Linked DNA regions of Homo sapiens: regions 1, 2, 3, 4, 5 and 6 are each linked to region 7. The links are contacts of gene promoters, found by promoter capture Hi-C in blood cells and fetal thymus (Javierre and others, 2016). All regions are on one chromosome and are shown on one strand. Each heading gives the region's core, a stretch centred on a gene start or on the middle of the fragment in contact. The rest is flanking DNA. Distances are from core to core; before and after follow the strand shown.

The links. Contacts are between HindIII fragments. The CHiCAGO score rates a contact against its expected background, and 5 or more counts as called.
Region 1: a fragment that was not itself captured here is called in contact with the fragment with the promoter of ZNF503-AS2 in region 7 in 6 of 17 cell types (endothelial precursors, M0 macrophages, M1 macrophages and 3 more); the score reaches 9.4 in endothelial precursors.
Region 2: a fragment that was not itself captured here is called in contact with the fragment with the promoter of ZNF503-AS2 in region 7 in 8 of 17 cell types (megakaryocytes, M2 macrophages, M0 macrophages and 5 more); the score reaches 10.2 in megakaryocytes.
Region 3: a contact is called between a fragment that was not itself captured here and the fragment with the promoter of ZNF503-AS2 in region 7, in 3 of 17 cell types (megakaryocytes, M1 macrophages and endothelial precursors). The highest score is 5.9, in megakaryocytes.
Region 4: a contact is called between a fragment that was not itself captured here and the fragment with the promoter of ZNF503-AS2 in region 7, in 1 of 17 cell types (megakaryocytes). The highest score is 5.2, in megakaryocytes.
Region 5: a fragment that was not itself captured here is called in contact with the fragment with the promoter of ZNF503-AS2 in region 7 in 1 of 17 cell types (megakaryocytes); the score reaches 5.0 in megakaryocytes.
Region 6: a contact is called between a fragment that was not itself captured here and the fragment with the promoter of ZNF503-AS2 in region 7, in 1 of 17 cell types (megakaryocytes). The highest score is 8.0, in megakaryocytes.

Annotation. Positions count from the first base shown.
Region 1 is chr10:75,919,582-75,923,390 of GRCh38, forward strand. All of the region lies in intron 2 of LRMDA (leucine rich melanocyte differentiation associated), which reads left to right. Among named protein-coding and RNA genes, the nearest start is that of MIR606, 370 kb to the left of the region's middle. The HindIII fragment of the contact is 604 bases long and covers 2,070-2,673 here.
Region 2 is chr10:76,305,259-76,309,129 of GRCh38, forward strand. The region is part of intron 5 of LRMDA (leucine rich melanocyte differentiation associated); the gene reads left to right. It overlaps LOC112268057 (a long non-coding RNA gene), which reads right to left. Exons shown (of 3, transcript XR_002957050.2): 3 at 1,288-1,371. Among named protein-coding and RNA genes, the nearest start is that of KCNMA1-AS1, 580 kb to the right of the region's middle. The HindIII fragment of the contact is 946 bases long and covers 983-1,928 here.
Region 3 is chr10:76,001,436-76,005,585 of GRCh38, forward strand. All of the region lies in intron 2 of LRMDA (leucine rich melanocyte differentiation associated), which reads left to right. Among named protein-coding and RNA genes, the nearest start is that of MIR606, 450 kb to the left of the region's middle. The HindIII fragment of the contact is 2,845 bases long and covers 104-2,948 here.
Region 4 is chr10:75,939,618-75,943,541 of GRCh38, forward strand. All of the region lies in intron 2 of LRMDA (leucine rich melanocyte differentiation associated), which reads left to right. Among named protein-coding and RNA genes, the nearest start is that of MIR606, 390 kb to the left of the region's middle. The HindIII fragment of the contact is 1,015 bases long and covers 1,819-2,833 here.
Region 5 is chr10:76,022,163-76,026,258 of GRCh38, forward strand. The region is part of intron 2 of LRMDA (leucine rich melanocyte differentiation associated); the gene reads left to right. Among named protein-coding and RNA genes, the nearest start is that of MIR606, 470 kb to the left of the region's middle. The HindIII fragment of the contact is 5,916 bases long and covers 1-4,096 here.
Region 6 is chr10:76,085,874-76,090,116 of GRCh38, forward strand. All of the region lies in intron 5 of LRMDA (leucine rich melanocyte differentiation associated), which reads left to right. Among named protein-coding and RNA genes, the nearest start is that of MIR606, 540 kb to the left of the region's middle. The HindIII fragment of the contact is 427 bases long and covers 2,490-2,916 here.
Region 7 is chr10:75,399,026-75,402,902 of GRCh38, forward strand. It overlaps ZNF503-AS2 (ZNF503 antisense RNA 2), which reads left to right and starts at 2,503. Exons shown (of 2, transcript NR_024421.1): 1 at 2,503-3,236. It overlaps ZNF503 (zinc finger protein 503), which reads right to left and starts at 2,739. Exons shown (of 2, transcript NM_032772.6): 1 at 2,080-2,739; 2 at 1-1,349. The coding sequence starts at 2,394. RefSeq lists an enhancer at 1,741-2,241. The HindIII fragment of the contact is 15,649 bases long and covers 1-3,877 here.

The DNA of each region.
Region 1 (3,809 bases), core at 1,122-3,621, 520 kb after region 7:
ATAGTAGGTTTTTGGATCCAAGGAATCTCAGTTAGGGAGGTCCTTGGAGCTCATCTCATGAAAACTCAATGGCTTACCCCCCGAAAAAGGCTTTCTGAAATCTTTAGGCATTCTGTAAAGTTGTATCTAAGGTTAAGAGAATTGAAACTGCAGCTTTTATGGAGATGTCTGCCTGGATTAGATATGTTTCCTCTTTCTCCCTGGGATGTGCCACCTGGAGAAGGTCCAGGGAGCAGCCCTGTGGCTTTTGAGAAATGGTTCAGTTTGCTCTGGGGCCTTCTGATGCTTCTCTGACACGTCCGAGTAGGCAGCATTTTTTTTTAAACCCTTGATTTTCAGAAACGCATTGTCCCTGAGTTATTAATAATTATCTCTCTCTCCTCTCTACTCTTTCTTTCTCTCACTCTGAAAATCAACATCAACTTGACTAAATCCCTTGAGTTGAGCTTAGTCCAGTTTTTCAGTTTTCTTCTGCAGCTGAACACTCAATGCTTGATTCTCCTGGGGGTTGGGTTTAGGGCCCTCCCTATGTTCCCAGTCTCTAGGCCTAGTAAGTACATTGTTTTGGAAAGCCTCTTCCCTTTCAGTGCTGGCTCCCTAGAGACCTTCAAAACATCTTGGGTCAGAAAGTGCAATCCAAGCAAGCCTAGATGGTACACCACCCCCACCCAAAAGATCCGGATTTGAGATTACCCCCAGGACTTTTCCTGTTGATGGCACATTTGACTTACAGTATAGTAATGTGTAGTGCTTTTTCTCTATGAGCACTTCATAAGCATCCTTCGGTGATCATGACTTAGAAATGATTGGAGAACCTGCTTGTTCAGAAGGCCAGATGTTTCACAAGAAAATGAAGGACAGAGGTCTCCCAGTCAGCAATATTAGTAGTCTTGGGATAATAGCATTGGCAGGAGTCTAAAAGTTTGTCTGATACCAACTCCTTGCTATAACTTATCCAATCCAGCCCTCTCTATGCGCTTTACAGATAAGGAAGCCAAAGTATATAGAGGAAAATTCCCAAGGATAGTCACATAGCTGATTGTTATGGCAGAGCTGCGTTATCCTTAGCATTGTACCACATTCCTCCTTCTTCTCTGGCTCTCAGATTTTCTAGCACAAAGAGCAAAAACAAAAACAACCCCAAAGACTAGAAAATGAAACACAGCTCAGCCTGGGTTTTATAATGCCAGTCATAGGAGGTGCTCAATAAATGCTTATGACTTGCTGCACCCCCAGGAAGTACTGCCTCTTCTTTATGTGCATAGCTTCGCGCAGTTGCAGGCATGATTCCAGCCTCTGGAGATGTCTGATAGGGTGTGCGGATGGGCCATGTTGTTCCACTAGAGTAATTTCCTAGAGAGAGGAGAGAAGGGAGCTCTCATTTTGTATGTGGTCTGTCTAATGCCTCTCACATCCAATAACTTTAAAACCAATCAAATTAATAATGTAGGGAGAAACAAATGGATTCACTCTTTAGATATTTAAACAGGGATATTTCTGCCACTGACATGTAAATCTTTAATAGGATATGAGATTTGGCAATAAGAAAAAATGCCAAGTTGCTGGAGACCTGGTTCTTTTGTACTATTTTAGGTCCAATCATTACCTCCTGACATTACCTTCCTCAAATAGGTTTATTTGTTGAGGCCCTACTTTGTATTGGGTAGTGTGTATTTAATACTGGGATGTAAAGTAGTGGAATATATGGTACTTACCCTCACAGGACTTCCACTCTGCTGATGACAGACATATATGTGTAGAAAGATGAATACAAATACAGATCAGTAAGTGCAGAATGTCAGCCTAGTTCTGTATGTAATCACTGCTGCAGATATTCATGGGAGGAATGGATGATGTGTAGGGCTAATTAGCCTTCAAATAGGGAAGCTCATGCTGTGAAATATTTTCACCTGGTCAAAGGATGAGGGGCTGAATCTTGACTCCCATAGGAGACAAAGGATCTGGAGAGATTTTCAGATAGTCACTGAAGATTTCCAGTTGAAGTAGAAAAAAGCTTTGTGTTTGTGTCTGTGTGCATGCATGTGTGCATGTGGGCATATGTGCATGCAAGCTTATCTACATGGTTGTATAGACATTTCTGTCTTTTAGATTCCAAAGTGACTTCCTGGAGTGATAGTGAGGCTCCTCAAAACTTGGTTTAAAACCAACCTGAAGCATTCTTTATTTTCAAGATCTAAAATTTCTAGAAGCTCTTGTTGTGAGGAAGTTTTCATAAAACCATATTTACATATCCCCTTCCTCCTTCTGATCCTTCCTGGCATTTAATATTGATAAACTTCCTATTCCCTTGCCCACCTCTATTTTCTGTCATCTGGACTTATTAATGTGTCTTAACAGTAAACTCTTGCATCCTCCAATTGTTCTCCTCTTCCTTCCCCCCAACATTGGCCTCCTTTTACTTTTTATCTCTTTCGTTTTCTTCCACTATAGTGAGTTAGAAGAACCAAATGTAAACTTGTAGCAAGTCTTTCTTCTGGGTTGATATCTGTTTCCTGCCCATCCTGGTGGCCAGACTTCCCAACAATGGGGGAAAGTCATGGCGTCTGTTTCATTCCTTCCATGCTCCATCAAGAAGACCGCTTTTTAGGATCAATTTCCTCCCTTTCTGGAAAATTGCTCACTATTTAGAAAGAAGAAGTGTTCCTACTCTGAAGCTTTCAATTGTTGCCACCTTAATGGTCTCTCTCATTATTCCCAGGCATGACAGCATGAGTTTTGGTTTGGTTTGCCTTCCTTGACATATCAGAATGGTTGAGATGACCTTGCTTGATGGACCATGGGCATAAAGGAACTGGTTGGTTGAGTGTCAAGACCAGGAAAAAGTATGGATCTGTCCTTGTTGGGAGCCCTCTTGTCTACTTGCTTGGTTCTTATTAGCCAGTTTGGAGGTTGCCTTCTGCCATCTTCCTTTCATCTGTGTGGTTCATCATGAATCCTGGCCTAGCTTCTCCTCCTTACCTTATGCTTACCCTTTGATGCAGAGTTCCAACATTAATGTCTGCCTTTCCAACTTCCACATATTACACTGCCCTCTACTTCCCACTGTGGGCATAACTCACTGACTGCAGGACTGTTTCTCCAGAATGTGGATGAGACCTCAGAATCCTTCTCAGCAATGTCCTGAGGGTAGACACCAGCTGATCAGTTTTATCATGAAAATTGAAACCTATCTTCTCTCCCTGGATCTTACCAAAGTACTCATTTTCATCTTCAGCCTAGATGTCTTGCTAGACTTTTTTCTTCCCTATTCTTTCCATCTATTTCCTATACTTTGTTCTTCATCTATTATTGGTGGTGATGGTGATATCCATATTTATCACACTCTTACAGTGTGCCAGAATATAAAGGCTACAGGTATCATCTCATTTAGACTTTAAAGTCACTCTAAGGGATACTGATACTATTTTACAAATGGGGGCCCAGAGAGGTTAAGTGACTTTCCTAAGGTCACATAATTCATCAGTGTCTGAGCTGAACCTGAAACACACTCTGCCCTTTTCTCCCTGCCTCTGCACTACCTTTTACTTCCTTAGTACCTCATTACATCTTCCATAGTCACTGAATTTTATTCTTTGTCATTGCGGCTTATTTAAATACTGACTGTATTGGAAAAATTAAAATTATGGTATCCTTAATAAAATAACATTGAAGAGGGTATAGATGTCTGCACTGGGAATATTCTTTGTGTGTGAAACAAAAATTCAACTTGTTATAGTCAATGAAGTCAATGGTTCAGTTAATAATGCCTCTAATGGCATAATTCTGCTCAGTGCCGGTGATGGGTACCC
Region 2 (3,871 bases), core at 206-2,705, 910 kb after region 7:
TGGGCCCTTTCTTGGGCCCTTTCTATCTTATAATTGGTACAAAAGACAGTAGATGGTAGAACGGAGTCAGGAAAAATGTTGGAAAATGTTTTAATGGATGAAAACTCATTTGGAAAGTAACCTCAAAACATCTTTTTTCTTTTTCTTTTCTCCCTCCCTTCCTCTTTCTTTCTTTCATGGTCAGGACATTGGACTGTCCTGAGCAAAACATATACCTAGAATGGGATCTCCCACCCAGGGTAGGTTCATGCATACTTTGTCAGTGACTGAGTCCCTCTAGACCACAATGTGTTTGAGAGTTGAAGACTAAGATGGGCACAGGGTAGTGTTTCTTTAGAAAATAAACTTAAATTTTGCATTTCCTTTGGCTTCAGGGAGAATAAGGCTGCTAGAATGGTTAGAAATATTGCACAGGACATCAGACTTACTGATTATGATACTTGATTAGTCATTTTTCTTGTAGTAATCATATATTTGGGTCTGGAATCTCTCAAGGAAATAGCTTCACACATATGTATACGTTTAGATGAATGAAACTTTTGATGTTAACAGTTATTGATAGTATAAAGCAAATAAAAAAGGCCTCTTTCAAGAACGGCTCTGTGAATAATTTACAGAAAATTTTGAAAAAAGAAAATAAAGGAGAAAAGATTTTTGGGGGTTATTTCTCAAATGACTTTCCATCTATTAAACTATTTTCCACCATTTCCCTTGGCTCCAATCTACTATATTAACTATATTTTATAATAAACACATTAGTATTGTGAAAATTAATATTTAATAATGTAGAGTCCTTATCTAGAAAAGTTAAGTTCTTATCTAGAAAGGTACACAGGCTGAGGATTAGTATTAACTTTACAAAGAAAGATTGGGTTTGGAACTCAGAGTTTTTTTATATCCTTATCCTCTCCTCTGCAATCAACACATACACACATACTTTTGCATACTGCAGCCCTTTTGGAATTCCAAATGTTAGCATCCAAGCTTCATGGTTCTTCTTCAGATTTTAGCTATCCTGATATAGACACTGAGAGCATGTGGGCTCTAGCCCAGAAGAGTTTTAGCAGCCTAGCAGAGCATTTGTACATATCCCCCTTTGGTTGCTATAGTGGGTGCTGTTGAATTGCTAAGCAGAGAATCCTGCCTACTTTCTTTGGGTCTCTTGGGGGAAATGAAACTCAAGTGTAGCAGCTAGTCCTAAGTCTGTAGGTCTTCAGTTCCACATCCTAAGTCACACATGACACGGGGCATGGATCTTCAGGGGCTTACCTAAGCTGTCCAGGACACATTGTCCTCATCCTCAACACAATGAACCTGGAGGCTTGGATATATTCAAGGCAAACATCCTTGGCATCTCTTTTAGAAATAGGCCTGAAAGATAAAGAGGGCCGAGTGATAGAGTAATGGGGAAATGCTTTTGGAAAATGAGAGATGCACATTAGAATTAATTTTCCCATACCTTTGAGGTTTGCATATGTCAAAATTAAAACTTTTTAGACTGTTGTTCCCAGAGGACTTCCTCGTGCTACTCTTTTGTACTGGTCACATATTCTCTTGTGGTATTATCTGTTTAATGTGTGGACAAAATGTGTATGATGTCTCATTCCCAGAATTGATACCAGTAGTTGCTTGACACATGCTAATTAGTAATTAAATATACTGTATTACTCCTCACTTAAACAGAACATACCACACTGAGTTTAACTTTATCCTGTTGACATATATATGTGTGGAGGAGTGGAGGAAGCCTGGGGTGTCATCATTTCAGAGGTCTGTTGCAGCATCTTGTGGTTCAGCTCTTAGTCTAGCTTTTTGTGGTTGTTTCTTTTTCCATGTCATACTGTGACCCCAGCAGCTACCCTTGCCCACCCCTCATGTTGCTCTATTTAGATGCCTGTGGCTGTTTTTAATCTTCTGTGGGATACCAAAGCTTAGAAGAATAAAATTGTATGATAAACCTGCCTGATGTCAACTAAGATCCTGAAAGGTATAAACTTTATGATATCTGCAAGACCTCGTGGGGAGGGTTTTCTGGAGGTGGAGGCCTTTTGTTGATGTTGATGTCAGGATTGAGCCACTGCATAATGAGTTCAGTTTGGCCTAAAGATAATGATGAGATGTTTTGAATGTCTGGGATGCAGTGAGGGGCTCCTGAAGACTTACACAGGAGGTCGTCTGCTTTCGAAGGGGAATTTGCCCTTTTGGCCTCTTTGGTGTCCACTACACTGTATTCTGGGATAGACCTAACTCTGTGGAACCACCATGTGACCACCCTTAATCAATAGTGGTCTGATGGGGCCAGCTGCTCTCTCAGCACTAGGAGTGGCACAGGAGCCAGGCTCAATCAGGTAGAGGGTTCTTTCTCATGGGTGAGGAGATTCTTTCCAGGATAGGCACATAACCCAAAGCAGGCCACGGATTCCCAGATTTTGTTGGAACTTACAGGAAAGAGAAACTCTTTCTTTTGTCTTTGAAGATGGTGAGGTACAGATGTGGGGGGCTCCTGGGAGGCCACCACGTGGAGAAACCAAGAAACAAAGCTGAGATAGAAATTTCTGATGAGAAGTTTGAACACCTGGATCTAACCGTATATGAAACCATATACCTTGAGCTCATTAAAGCCCCCTGCTCCTCTTTTTAAACTTAAAGCACTTTGAGGTGGATTTCATGACTTACCATCAAAAGGATAATCTTATTTTCCTGAACTGTTCAACAAGGGAGATTCTACAACTTACCCTGGAAATGTAGCAAGTGGTCCCCATAGAGTCATTTTGGTCAAGAATTCTTAATTGTGTGTGACTTAAATTTCATTTTCTGACAGTCTCTCTGTAATGTAAATAACAAACCAACCCTACTTGCCCTCTCCCCAAATCAAAAAATCCTCAAACCCAGGAACAAAATTTTGATTAGTCTACTCCTTCCAAAGACACCTTCATCTACTTGAACATCAATTTTCAATGGTCCCTTCAACCTTCTCTTTAAATACTGTCTTTATTATGCAACTTTGAAATGATCTACCTGTAGATATGTATGGCAAGTGTCAACACTAGTGAGCCATGAGAATTTGTCATAGCAGCGATCTCACAAGCATATCTTGAAGGTTTTCCTGTGGTTTCATCCTGGCATCTGGTCCTGAAAGACGAAGATGGATAGGGAGCCACATGGTGGCTGTTCACTGGCCCCAGGAAAGGCCGTGCTTGTTTCCCCTCCCAAGACTACTTCCATGGACCGAGACAGGTAACTGCAGTTACCCAGTGACTGGAGGAGATGGAGAAGATTCCAGTAGAACCAGCCAATCTAAACCCAGGTCCTTCTCTGTGAAGTCACCTTTGCTACACATCAGAGACCATGGGGCTGCTGCTTTCTCACCAATCTCTCTCCTGCTCTCACCTCTCTCCTCCCAGCCTGGGGATGGAGAAGCCATAGCAAGCACCCATATGGCTCACATTTTCTTCTCCTCAAAACCTCTCCCCATAGTTCTGTCTGAATCTGAAAGTGACGGCTCCAATTAAGACACAGGAAGAAAAGAAATATAATTTCTAAGTCACTTGGCCTGGTGACATATATGTTGGGAGTTAGGAAAGTCAGTGTGCGGCTTCTCTACCATCCCAGGCGCTGCAGTCAAACAAATCAATTCAGCCTTCAGAGGGGCATCCATTGCCTTGTGATTATGTTTGTGTAAAGTCTTGGGGTCTTTGATCAAAGAATGGCATTTCAGGCCAGTCCCTAATCCTCACTGCCTTAAGATGTTTAAATGGGTTAAAAAAAAAAAAGTTGATAACAGCTGGGATTTAAATTTGCCTTTGCCCAGCTTTTGTTTTGAAAGGACTTCTATTATCCGTGGCTTCCCTTTTCGAGGCAAAGATGGATC
Region 3 (4,150 bases), core at 276-2,775, 600 kb after region 7:
TTCAATGTGAAATTTTGGGGATGGATTTTAAAAATCATTTTTATAGTTTTGAAGTTTAAGAGTAAATTCATTATGGCTTAAACTTTGTTATATTTAACTGTAAAGCTTGAGTTGATTTGCACTTAACTGACTGATGAATATAATGTTTCTTTCTGTTGAAATTTAATGAAATATTTATTTAATTTATTATTTTCATTTATTATATTATTATTTATTTAATGAAACATTTATTAATCTTAGTTTTGCAATTTTTATTTCACATTTTAGAGCCATTTATTTTCAGATATCAAACATTTCATTGGCCTTTAATGAGTTTAGAGGAGAGCCCTTGACGCTATGCTTGTAGCTCCTCATGGATGAAAGGCCCTGAAAACAGACCTCTTTGCAGCTACCCACCCAAAACCAAATTGTATACTGCAACATTTGCTGCCCTTGGAGAACCCCAAATGGGCTTGTTGGAAAACCTCTTCTAAAATCCCTGGGACTGGCCTGAGTGTCATGGAAGTGACCCTGAGGGCTCAAGAAGAACTGCCGTTTCTACTTGCCATGGTGTCTTACTCAGCTTGGGCTGCCATAAAAAAATACTGCAGACCAGGTGGCTTAAACACAGACATTTGTTTCTCACAGTTCTGGAGTCTGGAAGTCCAAGATCAAGAGCCAGCTCTGTTTCTGGTGAAGACTTTTCCCAGCTTGCAGATGGCTGCTTTTTTGCTGGGTCCTCACACCCTCACATGGTAGAGACAGCACACCCTGTTCACTCTTCTTCTGAGGGCACCAGTCCCATGATGAGGGTCTCACCCATGTGACCTCATCTAACCCCAATTCTCTCCAAATACTGCAACTTCAAATACTACTTATACAAAGGTTCCACTTCAAACTACTGTCACATTGAGGGCTAGGGATTCAATATATGAATTTGAGGAGGTTGCGGGGTGGGGCACAAACCTTCACTCCCTAACATACAGTGTGGTGGAAACACCCAGGCCTCAGAGTCTGTGGCTGTGGGTTTCACATCCCAGGCCCACCACTTTTAGCAGTGGTTAGCCTCCGAACTTCAGTTCCTACATCTGTAAAATGGGGATGGTAATCAATCTGTAGGGTTGCTATTTGCATTAGAAGTAATGTTTATAAAGGGTCCAGCACCCAGTAGGTACCTCTTCTCATTGTAATTTACCCAGTCATGTGAGGGCATCTTTAATGAAATGAAACAGCAGCTGTTATGTGTGGAGTTACAACAAAGAGACACACACACAGAGCAGGGAGACAGGCCAGGAGCATGTCTGGAGGCAAGAAAACAGGTAAGGTCCTTGGCATTGAGGCAAGGAGGGGCTCCTACAAAAAAAGTTTTTTTCCTACATTTCTGGGAAGTCTCAGGCTTTCAGGGAACTCCTCAGGTTGTGCCAGACTGCAAAGAGTGGGCTGAGAGGCCCAGCCTTCTGGGCCTGGGGATGATTCAGGAATGAAAGATCCCCAAGTTGGGAAGACTCAGCTTGAGGGTTTTTCACCAGAAAACAATCTGCAGTTTATTTATTTATTTATTTTTGCCATTTCCAGAATGGAAAACACAAACGGAAATGATGAGTTTTATAAATATAGGAGTTTTGTGCCTGGGATGGAGGTGGGGCGTTGGTATTTATGTGCAAATAGCCCTAGATTCTGCAGATTACCAGTATCTGGGGAAGGAACAAATGCCCAGCATTTAGAAAGCCATCAGAACAGGGAGCGCCACCCCTGGCTGCGAGAATTGGTGGGCAGTGATATGGCAACCCTCTTTCCTGAGTACTCCACCATTAGACGGGATTGGTGGGTGGAAAATCAGAGGCCATGAGTAGTCTCCCAAATCCTTCCACTTGAGTCAGCCTGCAGCCAATTAACCTTCCTGACCGACTCAAGGCAAGCCTAGACCACAGTGGAAGGAACGTCCCCTGGCCCACCCTCTCTCTCTACCATCCTCTCTCCCTTCCTTCTGCCACTCAAGTGAGTGCTCAGTGTGTATCAGGCACTATCCTAGGTGCTTGCATTAAATCCATGGGCAAAATGGAAAAATTTATAATAGACATTAAACAATAAATATGTCTCATAAAGACGTTACACGTTGGAGGGCAAAAAATGCTATGGAAAAAAGAAAAAGAGAGCAGGTAATAAAATTAGTAGTCCCGGGTGGAAGTGGCAGGACAGGTTGCAGTATTGAACAGGGTGGTCAGGAGAGGCAGCATTAGGAAGGTGAGATGAGTAAATGGCAGGTAAGTCAGTTGAGGGTGTTGAAGGACAAAAAGATTATAAAATGAACTGTCTCTGAGCTCATAGTGTCTGATAGGGGGAGGAAGAAGCCAGTCAACATTGGAATGCCTGGAATATCATTTCTTCCTAACAAATCTGAGCAATGTGGCTTAGGGAGATGAAGAATACCTGTGCCTGCCAGTCCTTAATCTTATGTGGCTCATGGTACCGCTAGGCAGTGCTTGGTATCAGATGGAGATTGGGACCTGGGTATAAAGCCAGAGTTCTCTAGCCCAGGTGGGGTTTTTGGGTTTCTAATGGCTCAAAACGTTTGTTGGATGAATGACATGAGTGGTTAAATGAAAAACTGAGTGAATAAATTCATCAATGAGCAAATGAATGAACAATGAATGAATAAAGACTGATTAAAATTCTTATCTGTATTAAGAATAGATAATTTACAAGTTCACACCATAAGTTACTAGTTGCACATTTAGCTTCAGTAGTAATTTTTAAGGTGCTTTGCTATATTTAAAATATATAGGCATTTACACCATTGAGTAAATTTTCAAATGTAGTGAAAAATTATCCAATTTTAAATATGTTTAGGTATTATGGTATAGTCCGAACTTAGATTTTCACTTATAGCTGTAATCAAAGTAGACCATATTTTCTGAACCAGCAGATGACTTTGCCTCCTATGTAGAGTGAGAGCAGACTGCTTGATAAGCTTGTGAATCACAGTTTCTTGCTTATGGATAATTGCTGCTCTTAGTCTTGAGACATGACATAGAGATTGACGCAGAGTAAACTGCTGGTCTGCTGGTTACTAAACTTTGCATATTTTCAGAAAGACCTGGGGAAACTTACAGAAAGAGCGGCAGACAGTGTCAGGCAGGCCACAGACTGGCCACCCCCAGGTCTACTTTATCAGAAGTTTCAGGTATGGTCTCCAATGTCTGCAGTTTAAAATTGTTTCTCAGGTGATTTTGTTGTCGATAGTGTAGGGGATTAAGGAACCACTGCACCAAAGCCAACTTTGAGAGCAGGAGGTATGTCCTTTTCTTTTAATTTTTTTTTTTTTTTTTTTGAGACGGAGTCTCACTCTGTGGCCCAGGCTAGAGTGCAGTGGCGTGATCTTGGCTCACTGCAAGCTCCGCCTCCCAGGTTCATGCCATTCTCCTGCTTCAGCCTCCCGAGTAGCTGGGACTACAGGCGCCTGCCACCACACCTGGTTAATTTTTTGTATTTTTAGTAGAGGCAGGGTTTCACCTTGTTAGCCAGGATGGTCTCGATCTCCTGACCTTGTGATCCACCCACCTCGGCCTCCCAAAGTGCTGGGATTACAGGTGTGAGCCACCATGCCTGGCCTTAAAATTTTTACTTTATTAGTGTCTATCAATAAATGGATAAGTGTAAATCCTAATTGCAGGAAGCCAAATGAGACAGATTTATCCCCCTCCAACAAGGTAGCATTTCAGTCTTCTTTCTTTCTCTGTCTCTCTTTTTCTTATTTTGTTTATCTTCTCCCTAAACATAGGACTTCTCTGTATGTATTACTGTACTATGTGCTTTCTCTTTACAATTCTGATACATTATGCATGTCTTTCAATACATATTAAAGCTACATGATATTCCAGAATGTGGAAGTGATCCATCCTTTCAACTTGTTGAAATTCATTGATTTACTCAAGTGCTTCCCTCATAGAAAAATGTTGATAAACCTTTGCTGACTGAATAAATGAAGAGAACATAGCTATCTTGTACCATCCACCCCACGTCAGTTTCCCATAGGAAGTTTGGGGTTAAAATCAAGCCAGTTTCCTTGGCACATGTAGTTCCAGCTACTTGTGAGGCTGAGACGGGAGGAGCACTTGAGCCCAGGAGTTTGAGGCTGCAGTGAGCTATGATTGTGCCACTGCACTCCAGC
Region 4 (3,924 bases), core at 1,076-3,575, 540 kb after region 7:
AACCTAGAGAGGTCACATTCCACTTTGTTACTTCCTAGGAGTTCGCAGCTTTTCTCTCCTCCATTACCTTTGGCTGTGAGTGTGCAGTCAGTACTCTCAGAGGTCATTCCTCAGGCCAGATCCGGACTTTGGGCTGGGGTGAACTAGGTAGGTATTTGGCTCTCAGGCTTCCTAGTCCCCATCCTCTGTACAGCATCAACCTTGTGCACACTGCCCAGCCAAATGGCTTTGGCTGGGAGAAGAGCCTTCCCTGGGGGACTTCAAAGCATGTATTTGGTCTTTGATATGACACTGTGACATGTTTGTACCAACACACGTGCCTTTAGCAGAAGAAAGATAACATCAGACCCCCCAAATCTGGCAGAGGGTGAGCAAGAGTTTGGATGAAGAGAACTATGCACCTTCTGGGACTAAAATGGGAGAGGGCACATTTTCAGGATTCCACGACCCAGTCATTAATTAGGTGATGAATTCAACAGATATTTATTGAGTACCTAACTTAATTCTGGATACACAGTTGAGTAAGATGGAGTTTACATTCTAGTAGTGGGAGGTAGCGATGGTGATGGAATATAAACAAAATAGGGGCAATTTCTGATGTAAACTGAAAAATACAGAAGGCATTATTGGGGCAGTAAGCGGCTGGGGGTGGGAAGGGCGTGTTGATAACCAGGTGGACTGAAAGGCCTTTGTTCTCCTCATACTACACACCTGGCATCTGGAGCCACCTGTCCCCTCATGCATCTGTGCCCAGTCTTCTTTCTGGTGGTTGCTCTCACACTGTTCTGAGGACAGCTGAAGTGCCCTGGACCCCATGTGTCTGTTCATTTTCCAAGGCTCAGGTAAAAAGCCGTGCCTTCCACGAAGCCATTCTGGTTTCCACCAACTAAAAGTGAGAGTTTGCACCCTGAGTTCCTGTGTAACCTCCTATCTCTGTTCCACATTGGCACTTGGCACTTTCTGTCTTGTGTTAGAGTAGCTTTGCGTCCCATCTCATCGCCACTCCTTGCCTGTGAGTTCCTTAAGTACAGGAACTATGTACCTATAATATCTTATCCCTGATATACTCAGCAGTGTCTTGTGCTTAGTAGGTGCTTCATAAATATTCATTAAATAAAATAATTACAGAGAAAAGCTAGGGAAATTTATGGGGTGTGTGTGTGTGTGCGCGCGCGTGTGTGTGTGTTGAGGGGGTGTTTGAAATAGTCTGGGGTTTGATCTAATACATAGAAATGCTTCCATGAAATAGAAATGCCTTACAGTTGTGTGTAGCTATTTCACTGAGTGGGTTTGTTATATCTGAATGGACTAGTGATGTCTGCCTGCCTCTCTGGGTAACAAACACATTTTGGAGGGATTGTTAACTTGAAGGTTGTAATAAAATCTTTACCACTCTGAACAGCTAGCATTGGTGTCTGCTAAGGGGGAACAAAGGCAAAACGTAGTTCTGTTGGTGAAAATAGTTTGACTGTGTTTAAAAACTAATCATTCTGCAAATATCAACAAGCTCAGCAGATGCAAGCTAGCCACCTTATAGTTTAAATGGAGCCCTTCACGCTGTATTGGAAATGCCGCCGCCTCCAGCCCACCCTATACTCCACAGGCCAGCTCCTGCTCTTCTGGCCAAGGAAAGGCGAGTAAGCAAGTCTATTGCCCGTTGGCCTCCTGAGACACCTCTGAGGATTAAATAACTAATGACTGTAAAGTGCTCTGTGAAAAGAGAGTGCTCTATAAAGTGTTATTGTTGGGGCTGTTAAAAATGGAAAACGACTTTTAATTTAGAAAGAGAACACTCAGCATAAGGAGGGGTGGCTATAAAGCTTTTATCACCACTTTGCTTTCGGAGGCTTCTTAGCTGTTGGTGTTGGCGCCATGGTTTGCTTGCCCAGGGGTTCTGTCACCGTTCATGGGGTTTAGGAAAGATGCCAGCATCTCACTGGCATGGTGCCATCCTGATCCCCTTCCTGCATTGTAACCTCGTGGGCAGATCTGCGACTTGATTGGCTTGGGTTGCCTAACATTGATTAGAATTTCCTAAGAGCGAGCCACCTGGAATGTAGAGTATCCTGTGATCTGGTAGCTTCAGGAAGCCCCCAAAGCAGCCATGCAGACCACAAACCACTTGTAAAGATTGGGGACTGATGACAATCATGCCATGTGGACAGTATCCAGGCCCTCCTTCCATCTCTTGAGGAATAGGACTCAGCTCCTCTTTCTGTTCAATGAGGATATTGAGTTTTTATCCTAAATTCAGAATTTCACCAACTCCTTCTAGGCTCCTTGTTCATGTCCTACTCTCTCCATGTCACATTTATGTGGTTGGGAGGTTTAAAATATAGTGTTATACCTCTGCAGTCTGTATTATTATTTTACATATTATACATTTTGTGTGGATTTGTAATCACAGCGTGTAGGGTTTGCTTGGGCAGGTTCTCATTTCTAACATGTCATCCTGCCAGTGGGATGGAGGCTCTCTGGTCTTCTTCTTCTTTGGCTCCTCTGACTCCAAACACTTCAACACCTACCCTTCCTCAGCGACGTGCAGCCCCTTCAAGAAGAGAGCCCATAAACTCAGTGTTTATCATACAAATGTGGTGATGTGTTTGCATTTTTATGACCCAGCTAAGTGGTGAGTATTCATTTGTGCCACCTCACCCCAGATGCCCATCCAGAGGCTGAGCTGTTTATCATGCTCATCTCTTTCCCAAAGCCTGAACAAGGAGCTTGGGACCACTATAAACATGTTCCCTTTCAATAAAGAGGAAATTATTATCATATATTTTGGTAATAACCAATAACATTTCAAATTACTTACATTTATGGCTTATAATCAAGCTTATGCTTAACCTCTAATCCTCATGAAGCTGGTGATGATGGGCTCGGTAGTTAACCACTTGCGGGAAGTTAAGGGCAGGTAGAAATCCACCTGACCAGTAATTAACCAGAGAAGCAACCCATTTCTGCAGTTGAGATTATAAACACTGTGCTTGGTTTATGTTTAATTGGCAACAAGTGAGGTGAACCCCATTAGTTTTGCAGTGATGCCCTGGAGGATTTGGCCTGGTCAACTTCTCATCAATTAATGTGCTGATGAGGGATGCTGGTTGCTGCACACTGGGTCTTTGGGTTCCTGGTCTTTGTTTCTTTAGCTGAGCATTTGAGGAGATTGCTTGGAACATAGTTCATGGCTGGCAATTGAAGGATCACAGAGACATTGCTCTCTCTGTAACTATGTGTTCTGATTGCGGTTTTCAGTAGTCTTTTGTTTGAAGTCCTATCATCCATGAGTCTGGATTTGTGTGGGATATGAACTACTGTGATGCTACAAGTCATGTACTTAGATTGGCTTTTGAGTTGACCATTCATTTGGAGAGGCTTATATAAAGAAATGGGCCACTTTGTGGTCAGGCCATTTTTGTCTCCGAGTAGGTTAGGAACAGGGATCCAAGGGAGTCTGGTTCCAGGATGGATGTTTCTTAACTGTTAGATGAAGTTAAAGGGTTCTAAATTGGATGGCTTAGCAAAAGCACCCACTGATGTTTTCAGCAAAAAAAAAAAAAAAAGGACTATGAGATAGAATCTTCCAGAGTCCACTCTTGTTTCACTGCTTTGAGGATTATACCTTTAAGCACATTTTAACTTCTAAATCATCCCACCAGGAATCTCCTATGACACTCATGGAGGAGCTTTATAAACAACTTAGTCATCCCAACAACCTGTGATGAAAGTACTATTCTCCCACCATTTTACAGATGAGAAAACAGAAGCTCAGAGAGCTTCAGTGATTTGTCCTAGGCAAAACATCTAAAAGGTACACAGCCAGAAATAATTAGTTTTGTCTAATATCAAAACTCATGCTCTTAACTGCTGTACTTTATTCTTACTTTTATGTCATTAGAAAGAAAAATGTCCCAAGCAAGTGGA
Region 5 (4,096 bases), core at 953-3,452, 620 kb after region 7:
GGTCGTCTGTTTATGCCCTTGTTTCACGAGATTTGGGGCTTTTGGAGGACAGGATTGTACTCCTAGTGCCTGGCAGAGTGTCTAATCCATAGGAGGCCTCAAATTAAAGTTAGTCAAAAGATGGAGCCAGTCACCTGCTCTAACCCCACATTTTGCATACGGAAGAAACAAAGGTCCACCAGTGATTGACTCATGGGCACAGCTAGAGTTTTTCTTAGGCCTCAACGGCAGCTCTTTTCTTCCATCTGCCTGTCTAATTGCTGCTCTTGGCCTTATGATGTTTTCACAAGCAACGTGTTATTCTAATGGAGACTATCTTGATCTTGTCAATTGAGTGAAGGCAAACACAAATGTAGGGCCAAGGCACCATATCAGGGAGTAAATACAGAAGTGGGCAATTAGCCTCAGGGCCCAGAGTGCAAGGATGTGCAGATCTGGCTGCCTGGCAGAGAGCACCTAGCATGGTAGGAGTCCTTAGACCAGAATAATCTTCCTTACTTTGCTAGGAAAGCCTTCCCCACCAGGCCTCACTGCTCCACCAGCTCCATGTGGGCTGGGAGGAAACCTATTTTATTCATCCTAGGCCTGGCTAGGGGATGCTCAATAAATATTTGCTGTAGGGGGAATAAATAAATGAATGAAGGATCCAGTCTGTGATTGTTAGGGTACCTTTCTATTCAACCAGGCTGTTTAATTTCCGTATCTCAAGCATCTCTGTCTGGACAATGGACAATGCTGGGCACCTATAAACTTTTTGATGACTTATAGAGGTAATAAAATCAAACTTTCTTCTTCTGCTTACTTGACTAGTGCGATGAATTAACCAATGGTTAATGTCTACTCTCGGTATATGTAATTCTCAGCCTTTCTGATCTCTTCAAATTACTGTCTTCTTCCTTCTGCCATCTTCTTTTTTTTTTTTTAAGAATTAATTTTATTAAAACCAGTCAAATTAAAGCTGCCTCTGTCCAGGGCATCTCAAGATCCATCCATTATGGCTTCTTATCTTGGCAGGCGATCGGCTTGGAAAGGCAGCTCAGCCATTATGCACATACAAAGCCCATCACTTCACAACCAATGGTCAATTCATCAAACATTTATCTTTTGCCCTCTGAGCGTGTGACGCTTTGCCTCTCATTTCCTAGTTTGGGTTGCTCTGAAAGATGAAGAAAAGCAGGCGGGAGTTCTTTTCTCCCCTAACTTTCCCCTTCCCCCAGATCGTTTTTATTAATCAGATTTCATACTTGAGGCTTGAAACATGCCCTGCTCTCTTTTTTTGGCCATCTGAGGGTTAGGGATAGTCTGCCAGTCTCATGCTGAACTTTTTACTGAATGGTGGAACAATTAAGGCAATGATAAAACTTTGCGAGTTTTCATCTTGCAACCCACTTTGGTGCATGGGATGTTTAAAAATGAAGAGACCTCCAAAATAATCTAGCCTAGCCGCCTTAGTTTACAAAACAGTACAGTGAGGCCCACAGGAGGCAAGGGTTTGACTGAAATACTGCAGCAAGGTGCTAACCAAGGCAGGACCTGGATCAGGTTCCTTGGTTGTTCCTAAGACAGAGGCTCTCCCGAGCTGTCATCTCCCCATGCATTCAAATGATTCTGAAACATATCACTATTTCTTCTGGAGGTTTAGCCACTGACCTGCTTCATTTTCTGAGGCAACTAATTTCTTCCTTTGAAAAGAAAATATGCACATTTATTTTTCAAAAACAATCTTTCAGCTAAACAACAATTGGTCTAGGTTTGTCTTCATGTACTGTATCTCAGCTGATCCCCATTCTGATATCTGCAAATTGGACAGGTCAGGGATTTTCTGCCACCTTGAAAGATTAGAAAGCTACATTTTCCAAGTGTTATTTTTCCAAAGTCTTAGCTCACAAAACCAGGACTTGAAAACAGAGCTCATGACTCAATGGAGTGGTCTTATGCTGTGTGTTTACCAACTAGATTTGCGTTTGGCCTCATTGAGTTGACAAGATATTCCTCATCAGAACAACACATTCCCTATGAAAACACCACACTGGCTTCCTGCTGCCATGAGCAGCAGTCAGATAACCAGAGAGGCAGACACAGAGGAAATAGCCTTGGTTCAGTGCTGGGAAAAACTCTTTTTCTCTATGCTGCACAACTGGAAACAGTTGATCTCGTCTCTGTCCCTAACATTGTTAGGTGCTAGTACACAGGGCCCAGGACATGCCATGAGAGGATCTGGAAAGCAAAGCTCACCAAATTATTCTTTGAGAGGTTTTGTGAACCATAGAGCTAGAGCTATTCTGGAAGAAAGAAAATGGCTCCGGTAGCAAGCCACTTTTGGAGGTCACCATATCTCCTGGGGCCTTCTTTCCTGCTGGAGACATAAAGCTATCTTGTAGTCTGGGACAGAAAACGTGTTTTCACCTTTTTCAGCCAATTAAGACCTCACAGAATCAACAGTTGGCACGTTTTTACTGGCTTTCCTGGCCTGAGTCCATTCCAGGGGGGCCCTGCCCGTGGGGAGCTGGTCTTTGGGCAAGTATTTGATTAGGGGCCCTTGGGGTCCCTGGGGCTTTGAGATCCAGCCGTGTAAATGTCTCCTTTTCTGGTTGGCTTGCAATGAGTAGACACCATCTGTTGAATTAAAAATTCCCTTTATGGAGGGTGGTGAAAGGCTTGTGTAGAAGAGACACTGTTATCTTTCAAGCAAACAGTTCATGAGGTTGAAGAGCAGCGTTCTTGGCCCAACATATGTTTGCCCAATGGCTGTGGGCGCCTCCCCCACCAGGCTCTGCATTCCGCCCCATGGCGAGGTGCACGCATACCATGGCTGCGGTACACCGTGTCCACTCTCACATCTCCCTAGCAAAGAAAACCCCCATTTATAGAACCCGCCAAACAAACTCACTCTTTAGACTCTTAAAAACAAACAAGATCCCGAGGCCACAGGCTCCATGCGTGCATGTGTGGTTTTGTAAAATCTCAAGCCGTGAATCAAAATAATTTCAGAGACATAGTCAAAGCCCAGGCCAAACCCTGTCACCAGGGTGGGAAAAAGACAGGAAAGATTCGCTTTGAGGAGGGAGGATAGCCCAGAGAAGGAGAATGATGGGAGCAAAACATGGAGGCTGTCCTTCATCTAGTATGTTCCTGGAGAGACACCTGCTCCTTGTCTCTGTCCTTAGGGACTTGCTATAATACCTTCAGGACAAGCATAGGAGGGATGGGCCAAAAACAGAAAGGGCTTACTACAGCCCTCATTGCTTTCCTCTCAACTTCCAGAGCTCATCTTATCCATGCTGCTTACTGATACGCTGTCCTGTATGGTGTCCCCTTATTCCAAGCCCAGCGTCTCTGTCTCCTTCATAGATGGTAAGAGCATTGAGAGCAGATTCCATGACTTGTGCATCATTTGTATCCCCAGATGCATGTGCTCACTGAATTCCTGTCATGTTGGAAATGGATACCACACCACATGCTTTTTGGTAGCAAATCAGCTTTCTGGACTGTAGCTTACTTGAGTGCCAGGATCAAGTTATCTCTTTTCCTTATGTTCCCTCACCACCAAATGTGGAATAAGGTATCAGCAGATGCTCAAAAGATTAGAATTCATTTGCATTGAGACTTAGCTCAAGCCCATCTCCTTCACCAGCCCCAGCCCCTTCTCAGAGTAGCACTAATCATCCCAATCTATTACCCTGCATTATCTGGTAACTGCTTCCCTGTCTATACCTACTACTTAATAGTAGGGGACTATTGCACAGTCATCCTTGTAGCTCCAGAGACTAGCAAAGTACTAAGCACAGAGTTGGCACTCAATACATTTTTATAAATGAATGAATGAACAAGCTATAGAGGTGTACCCCAAGGGGATCATTAGCAGATAAATCTCAAGCCAGTCCCACCTAATGCATACTTAACTTCAAAGGAAAAAAAAAATCTAAGAACTAGCTCTTTGGGAGATTCTTCTAGGAGCATCCATGGAGTACAGAGTGAAAGGAAAAAGAACTCGAAAACCATTTAGGTTCATCATTATATTAATAATTGAGGACGTACAATGAATGGGTTACAAAGCTACACACAGTGTTTGGATAAAGGATGTGGCGATGGTGAA
Region 6 (4,243 bases), core at 1,453-3,952, 690 kb after region 7:
CTGCAGATAGCCTCTATAGACAGAGGAATATTTGACAAAACACAAGCATCTGCCCCAGCAGCTGTTCCCAGCAATGGGGATCAGTCACCAACTCCTCCCACCTCCTCCTTCTCATGCTTCACTCTTCTGCACCACCCCCCGCCCAATTTTATAGTCTTCTCAAGTTTAAAGACTTCCCTTGACATGCATAAAACCAAATTTCTCTTCTGGGGACCAGTGAACACATATTCTGATTTTTTTCTAGTTCCTCGCCTTACCCCATTCTCAGGAAAGCCCAGTTACTTCGTGAGTTCAGAGCACTTCCTTGCTGGGGCGCCTGCTAAGTGGGGTGAGTTTAACTGGAGCACCCCTCCCAACTTTTGGGAAAGAGTTCACTCTCACCAACCCATACTTTCTGCCTTTCCTTCTCTGGGATTGTCTTACCTCTGGAAATCCTTCAGGGACTTCTAGGGAATGGCTATGTCAATGGGGCTGGTAAAAAGCAGCTGTGGGCTGGTAAATGTCAGAAGCTGTTTGCAAGGCTGGGAAAATTCACTGTTTATTTCTTCAAACAAGCCCTAGTTTCCTCCACTGAGAATGTTCTTCATCAAACTCATCATTCAGGTTTGTATTCAGAGCAGTTTAGCTTAGGCATGCAATTGTCAGTCAACACTCGTAAGTAAGTGGCCAAGTTTAAAGTTACTCTTTGAATATTTCTATACACTCTATTCAGTAAGTGTTCACCAAGTCCCTTCTCTGTGGCTACCACACAGCTAAATACTCATGTGTATATGTGTGGGAGAGAGAGCGTTTTACTCTCGTGGAGGGGCCCGAATGAAAAAGGCATCACCGTGGAAGAACTTGAGCTTTCAGTCCTGATAGGTCATGGATATAAATGGATGGCAGCTGCTAGCACAGTGATTTATGAGTGATGCTCCCAGCCAAAGGAAGTCAGGCACATTCTAGAACTGCAGACCGCTGTGTACAGGGCATCTCAGTATATTTAGCAAAATGAGATTGCAAACCACAGAAAAAAGGGCTGAGTGGGTGGAGAGGAAGAACATTCTCTGGCCAGAAACTTGCTGAACTTTGAGGCCAGGGACCGGAGGCTTTGCAGAGGTGGGGAGAGACGTTCTTTGGCTTGTCCGACAGAAATAAATCACCACTGAGGAGATATACCAAAGGCCAATTATATGGAGTGTTTTCTTGGAAAATCATCTCCCAGACAGGCCCTGTAAATCATCCCCAGCATTGGCAGACATTCAGATCTGCCTGGTGGGGCGGGTGGCATGCCAGTGCACCCCAGTGTCAGGTAGAGGAATTACACAGGGGTAGTCTCGTTGTAGCAGGGAAAACAGAGGTCAGGTACTAGCTGTCTTCATCCGAGGAAGCAGTGTAGGGCAGAACTGTTTGTTCTGTCCTAGGAATTGTAGGGCCAAGGCTTTTGACCAGGTTTTGCCACTTACTTGTTCTGCGACTTTCAGATTCTCTACAAACAGAGTGGGGACTGGGTTATCTCTGAGGTTCCTAGAAGCCCTGACATTAATTTTATGCCTTTGTGTTCTCTATAACTTCTGCATAGCGTAAGCTTTTGCATACCACACCCTATGCTGGTAATTATCCCAAGAGAGACAAAAATTTCCATCTACCCAGCAAGGTTAGTCATACAGGATCATCTTGGGAGGGTGATTGGGGTCCCTCAAAGCCAGGTCCTCAGTGTAGCTGTAGAGAGAGATGGGAATTTAGCCTGGAGAATGAAGAGCTAAGGGGGATGCCAGAGGTACTGTGTTCAATATTGGAAGGGCTTCATGTGGAAGAGGGATCCGTGTCTGTTGTCCTACTCTGTAGGCCAAAAACAGGACCAATGAACTGCAAATAGAGGGGCCCAAAAGGAAGGAAAAGATAAACCAGCAATCATTATTCCATTGCTCAGTGACACAAACTTTGATTTCCTCAGTGTTTGAAAATATAGCAAGAACTCTTAACTGGCCAAATGTGGTGGCTCACACCTGTTATACCAGCACTTTGGGAGGCTAGAGTGGAAGGATTGCTTGAGCCTGGGAGTTCAAGACCAGCCTGGGCAACATGCAGACCCTGTCTCTACAAAACAAACAAACAAAAAATTATCTGGACAAGGTGTACCTATAGTCCCAGCTACTTGGGAGGCTCAGGTGGGAGTATCACTTGAACCCGGGAGGTTGAGGCTACAGTGAGCCGTGATTATACCACTGCACTCCAGCCTGGGTGACAGCAAGACACACAAAGTCTCACAGACACACAAAAAGAACTCTAACCATCAGAACTATCCAACAGTGGCACCTAAACCTGGCAGAGCGGAAAGTGATCCATCACTGCTGTAATCTAGCCGAGGCTGGGTGACAGTCATGGTCACAGCAGAGAGGACAGGATGCTCCTTTCTGCTCTATCTGTAACCATCTTCTGTCCCTGGAATGAGCTGAGTGAGGAATGCTCTCCCTCCTCTCCTCAAAGTATCTTCCTTGTCCCAGCAAAGCTTCATTCTTCCTATTGAGGAGGGGTTCATTTATCTCTAGGAGAGTTATCTTAAAATTTGTCTACTTTTTGGAGAAAATATATATTGAGACTTTGAGGGTGGGAATTTAATTGGTTGCCAATAAACAGGAAGGCCCCAAGGGAAAGAAATGAGAATTAGAAACTGACTCACAATATCTGGATGGGAAGCCAGGCAGGAGGGAAACTCAGGCTCTCGAAAGGGAAATCTGTTGGGCACCCAGCTTACTTCTTAATTACCTTTTTTGTTAATGGCCAGCCCATTCCTTATGGGTTTGTTGTTGGTGGGTTTACTTAAACCTTTTTGAAATATATTGGTTATTTTAGCTTGTACTGATTCTGGAGGCAATGAATCCACAAAGTTAATAAAATAATTCTTCCATCATCTTAAAATTATTTCTTCATTCAAGCTTCAAGATTTCCTTCTTCTTCCCATATTCTAGAATGAACAATTGTTTTTTCTTTATTTATCTTCTTTGTGATTCTATTGATTCTGTTGGGATCCCTTCTCAGTCTTTGACTTTCTTTCTAGACAAAGCCCTCCTAATTGTTCTCATTAGTTTGAGTATGACAATTCTGTCCGTGTGATTAATTCAACACACACCTAACATTTATTAAGTTCCTACTCTATGGAAGTCGTTGAGCGAGACACTGAGGCTAGAGGTGAAAAAGACACTTTTCTTGCCATTCTTTATACAGGATTGTAGCAGAACCAAATTAGTTGTAATGAATAGAGTGCTATGATACATGATGCAAACACTGGCCATTGTTCATGAGGTCACTTTCATCTACCTCCTGTGACAGATGAAATCACTGAGACTCTGAGAATTTCAGTGAATCACTCAAGTTCCTACAGCTGGTAAATGGCAGAGCTGGGGTCTGAATCCAGGGCTGTCTGACTCCAAAGCCTGCATCCTTTCCACTGTGCAACACTTCCCTTTGTTTGATTGTCGATGGAAATACAGAGAAACATGTGACTTAAGAATGAGTTGGGGAACTTAATTGCACTGGTGAAAAATGAAGACATTTTATAATAAAACACATAGGAAGATGAAGTAGAAAGTTTACCAGTGTCCTGGGATCCTCCGCAACCACTTTGAGGAGAATCTGAGCTCTTGGTATGCAGGCTTGGAATCATGGCTCTGTCTGGCGTTGGACATAAAATGGTAGACTTGATGCAGACTCCAGCTCAGTCATCCTTGTCTGTTATGCTTGGAGGCGACAGCTCTGCATGAACCCATTAACTCAGAGAGATTTCGGCAGAGCCTTTCCCTTCCCTGACCACTGGGCACGAGTGCACCACTCTGCTCTGAGCTGATCAGCTTTCCATATGCACGGAACAACCACAGCCTCCCTCCCCATCTTTCATCACCTAAATAAGGGCAGTTAATGTTTAAGAGTAGAGAATAGGGAACATAATGATGGATAAATTATAAGTTTGGGGATATGAAAAGTCAAACTGTGTAAATATGTATTTTAAACCACAAACAGAATGTTAATGCATCTTTCCCATTAACTCACTAACTGAAATTACAGAGTGTAACGTGAGCCAACGCCCACGGGTTGGTTATGATGTTTTCAGATTTAGAACAGCAAATGATAAATGCCCTTCTCTCAGACAAAGAAGCGATTGACACAGCTTTTCAATGTAGTCACTGGCAATGTCAGCAGTGGAAAATAAACTGAGCACCAGGAGGAGAGACGTCCTGAGATACCTGCGGAAAGTGGAGTGTGG
Region 7 (3,877 bases), core at 1,253-3,752:
TAGCCCGACAGCAGTTTGTCTGTCCCGGGAAATGCCGTATGGGTCCGCAAGTGGCTCAGCAGCTCTTCGGACGTGGCGAAGCGCTTGTCGCACGGCCCGTTGGCCGACACCCAGTTGCAGATGTGGGGGAGTGGGTCGTTAGGGAGCATAAAGCCGTAGGGGTAGAGGGGGTGGCCGGCCAGGGAGGGCGGTGTGGCGCCAGCAGCCGCGGCGGCCGTTAGCGAGGAGTGCACACCGTGCAGCGGGTGCGTGGGGTACACCAGCGGGTATCCGGACTTCAGCGCCGCAGCCGCAGCAGCCGGATCATGTGCGCAAGAAGCGCTGGCGGCCGCCGCCCCTGCCAGGTGGCTAGCGCAGTGGTAGCTGAGGCAGTAAGGGTCCCGGCACAAACTGGCTGTCATCACGGACGGCGGAGACGCTCCGGCCAAAGGGCTGGAGCCGGCCGGCTTACTGCAGCCCAGAGACCCGGCCGCGGCCGCCGCCAGCTGCGCCCCCACCAGGCTGCCCGGCTTGGTGGGGTCAAGTGCCACGCCGTGTGGCAGGAACTGGGGCGGGTAGCCGGCGTAGGCCCCGGCCAGGCTGCCTGGGTAGGTCATACCCGCGGGAGGCAGAGGGAACACTGTCTGGCCCGGCTTGTAGGGTGACACGGGAGCCACCAGCCCAGAGCCCAACACTGAGGAGGAGGTGGGCGCGCTGGGGCCGGAGCCGGAGCTGGAGCCCGATGAACCGCCGCAGTCCGAGCCCAGAGCCTTGCCTCCCGGGCCCCCATCCGGATGCTGGTTCACATCCACATTAATCCCGCCGCCGCAGCTAATCCGGCCGTGTGCCAGCCCCGTGGGTCCCCCTTCGGCCGAGGCGCCCCCGGTGCCCTTGCCACCGCCGCCCACGTCGGTGTCTTTCTTGTCGTCCTTGCCCTCCGGGGCACCCCCGGCCGAGGACAGCATACCTCCCGGCGAGCAGGCCGAGGCGCTGGAGCTCGGGCTGCCTGTCCTGGGCGTGAATGGCTGGCAGGTGGCGCTCGGTACCCGGAATCCCGACTTCTCCGACGAAACACCCCCGCCGCCGCCCCCGCCACCGCCACCGCCTCCACCGCCGCCTCCCGGCTCCTTCTTATCCGAGCCGGGTTTGGAGTACGGCTTGAAACTCGACTTGTCCTCCACGCCGATGTCGCTCAGCTTCAGGGGGCCCGATTTGGTGTCCTTGTCGCCCGCAGCACCGCCGCCGGCACCGCCCGCGCCGCCCCCGTTGGAGGCAACCGAGGAGAGTTTGGAGGAGGGCGAGGGGTCGGGCTTCCCGATCTGCGAACATGTTTGCGCCAACAGCGCCAGCGGGCTCTTCTTGGCATCGAGCTGCGGGGTCAGACGATGGGGGGGGAGCGTCACACAGAGAAAGAAGTGGAAACCCTTTAGAATCCTGGCTTCTGGGGTTCAAATGCCTCTCCGCAACAGCCCACGAAGATCCTCCCAGCCCCAAGGCGCAATTCTAGGCGGCACCCCCTCTTCAACACCCACTCACAAACATTCTCGCCGTTGGGAAAGGCAGCAGATTGCTCCCCCCGCCCAACCACCACCCCCAGCAGCATCTTTCCTGCCCTCTCTGAGCGCTAACTAGATTTTTAAAGAGCAAAATGTTTTGGTTTTCGGTTCCTAGACCCAGAACTGTACCCCCTCCCCACAAACACTCCTTAATTCTTCAGAGTAAGGGCTCGGGCGGCTGGCGCCTCAGAGGCTGTGTGCACACACTGGCTTCTGCGGATACGAAGGACGGCGACTTTGGAACCGTATTTCAGACCTCCGCCTGCCTTCGGTGCCGAGTGAAGGGGCCTGGGTCGGGGTAGGGGCTTTCATATCGAAAGGAGAAACAAGTATTGGCAGCCTTGCTCCCTAGCATGCACGCCCCATTCCACTTCCTCCCCCTTTTCCGCCCTAGTTTTGAGGTACGGAAGCAGTAGCCTCTTCCCCCATTCGGGAGCTGAATCACTCCGACCCCCCCACCTCCGCCCAGATCCCGAGAAAAAGAAAGCCCTAGGGTGGCAGCCAGGGTAGTGGTCCCAGTGCGATCCAGAGAGAGGGTCCTTACCTCGATGGGGCTGACCGGCGTGGAAGGCAGGGGCTGCAGGTACTCGGGGTGCAAAATGTGGCCAGTTCGTGCCGTCAGCATCTTCAGCACCTTGATTGGCAGGCGGTTGGCCTGGCGCAGGGGGTCAGAGGGGGGCACGGCGTGCACAAAAGGCTTGGTGCTGCCGGCCGGGGACGAGCCTGGGCCGGGGCCGGAGCTATTTCCAGAGAGCGCGCTGGTCCAGGCAGGGTCTGCACCGCCGCCTCCGCCTCCGCCGCCGCCGCCGCCGCTGTGCTTACTGCTTCTTAGGGCAGAAAGCGAGGGCGCTGTGCTCATGACCCACCCGCGCGCATGGGAGCAGCGGGGGGGAGGGCTCCGGGAGGCGCGGGGCGGGCTCGGGGCTGCGCGCTCGCCCCGGGAGCAGGAGCAGCGGGAGGAGGAGGAGCTGGCGCGGCGGCCACGGGCGCCCAGCGCGCCTTCTCGGCGCCTGGAGCCAGACGCGAGTAATCCTGGGTGGCCCGCAGCGGAGCCGTGGCCGGGCTAGAGGAGCCGGCTGGACTGCGGGAGTGCCGGGCGGCTCGCGGTGTCCGCCTCGGGCTGCTCCCCTGCGCTGCGTTCTCGCGGCCCCGCGCCGGCGCTGCGCTCTGCGATGCGAGCCGCTGCGTGTCCAGCCGGGGCTCTGGCGAGGAAACTCACTTCAAAAGCAGCTGCACCAAGGGGGAGATTAAAGCCTTTGCCGCCTTCCAATCAAATGGGAGCCCGAGGTGATTGGAGGGTCAAGGGGATGTGACGCGTCCCGCGCCGCCGCCGCCGCCGCTGCCAGGACTCTCAGTGCCGGTTTTAATGGGCAGCTCCCTCTTCGCCGCCCCCCTGTGTGTCCCCTCCCTCGATTTCGCTGGGAGGACGAGATGGACATTTATTCTACGTTTGCCATCCGCCGCCTCCCTCTTTTTTCCTCCTCGTCGTTCTTCCTTTCCCCAGCTCGAAAATAAACTGAAACCTTCTTTTGAAGGGGGGTGCGCGTGAGGAACAGACTGCGGGGGGTGTCCAGAAGGAGCACCGGTGGGAGTGTGGACACCGGCCGGACTGTCAACTCCAGGGGCGAAGGGAACCTGCACACCCAGTGTTTTTTCCTTCGCAGTAATCGAGATCCCGCGCGGCGCAGCGCAGCCACCAGGGTAAGAAGGCAAGGTGGGGAGCCGGAGCTGGAAGAAGCCCGCCCGCCCGCTCTAATTTCCTCAGATTCCGCGGCGGAGAAACCAGAAGCTAGATGGGCAGTCGCAGCGGCGGCGGCTCAACACCGCGAGGAGCGCTGGGCTCTCCGCCCTTCCCGGCCACGTGACGCCCGGGGACGCGTAGATTGGGGCAGCAGCGGGGGTCACATGTTTCCTCTGTTTCACCCTCAGTCTGTCCCCCAACCCCCCATTCTTACTCTCCCACCCTGTTTTCCTCCCTCCCCCCCTTCTTTGGGCATCTCCACCCCTCCATCAATTGTCAATGTTCCTCGACCGCAATCAATCAGTTATTTGTCAGCTCTTGTCAATCCTCCCGTGATTTATGTCAGCTTTTGTTGCTGATTACAAGGCGGGTGCGACTTGAAGGGAAAAAGAGAGAGGGAGAGAGAGACGGAGAGGAAGGAGGAGATTGAGAGGGAACTGGAGGAGGGGAAAAGAGGAGCGGCCTCCTGGGATGGGGGTGGGGTGGGGGCTCTAAGAAAAAGAATGAAAGAGGCGCACGGTGTCAGGAAAATGAATAGCGAGAGTAAAGTGCGCAGGTGCGCCCAGGGCGCCGAGAGGGGCGCGCAGGCCTGGAGTGTGCG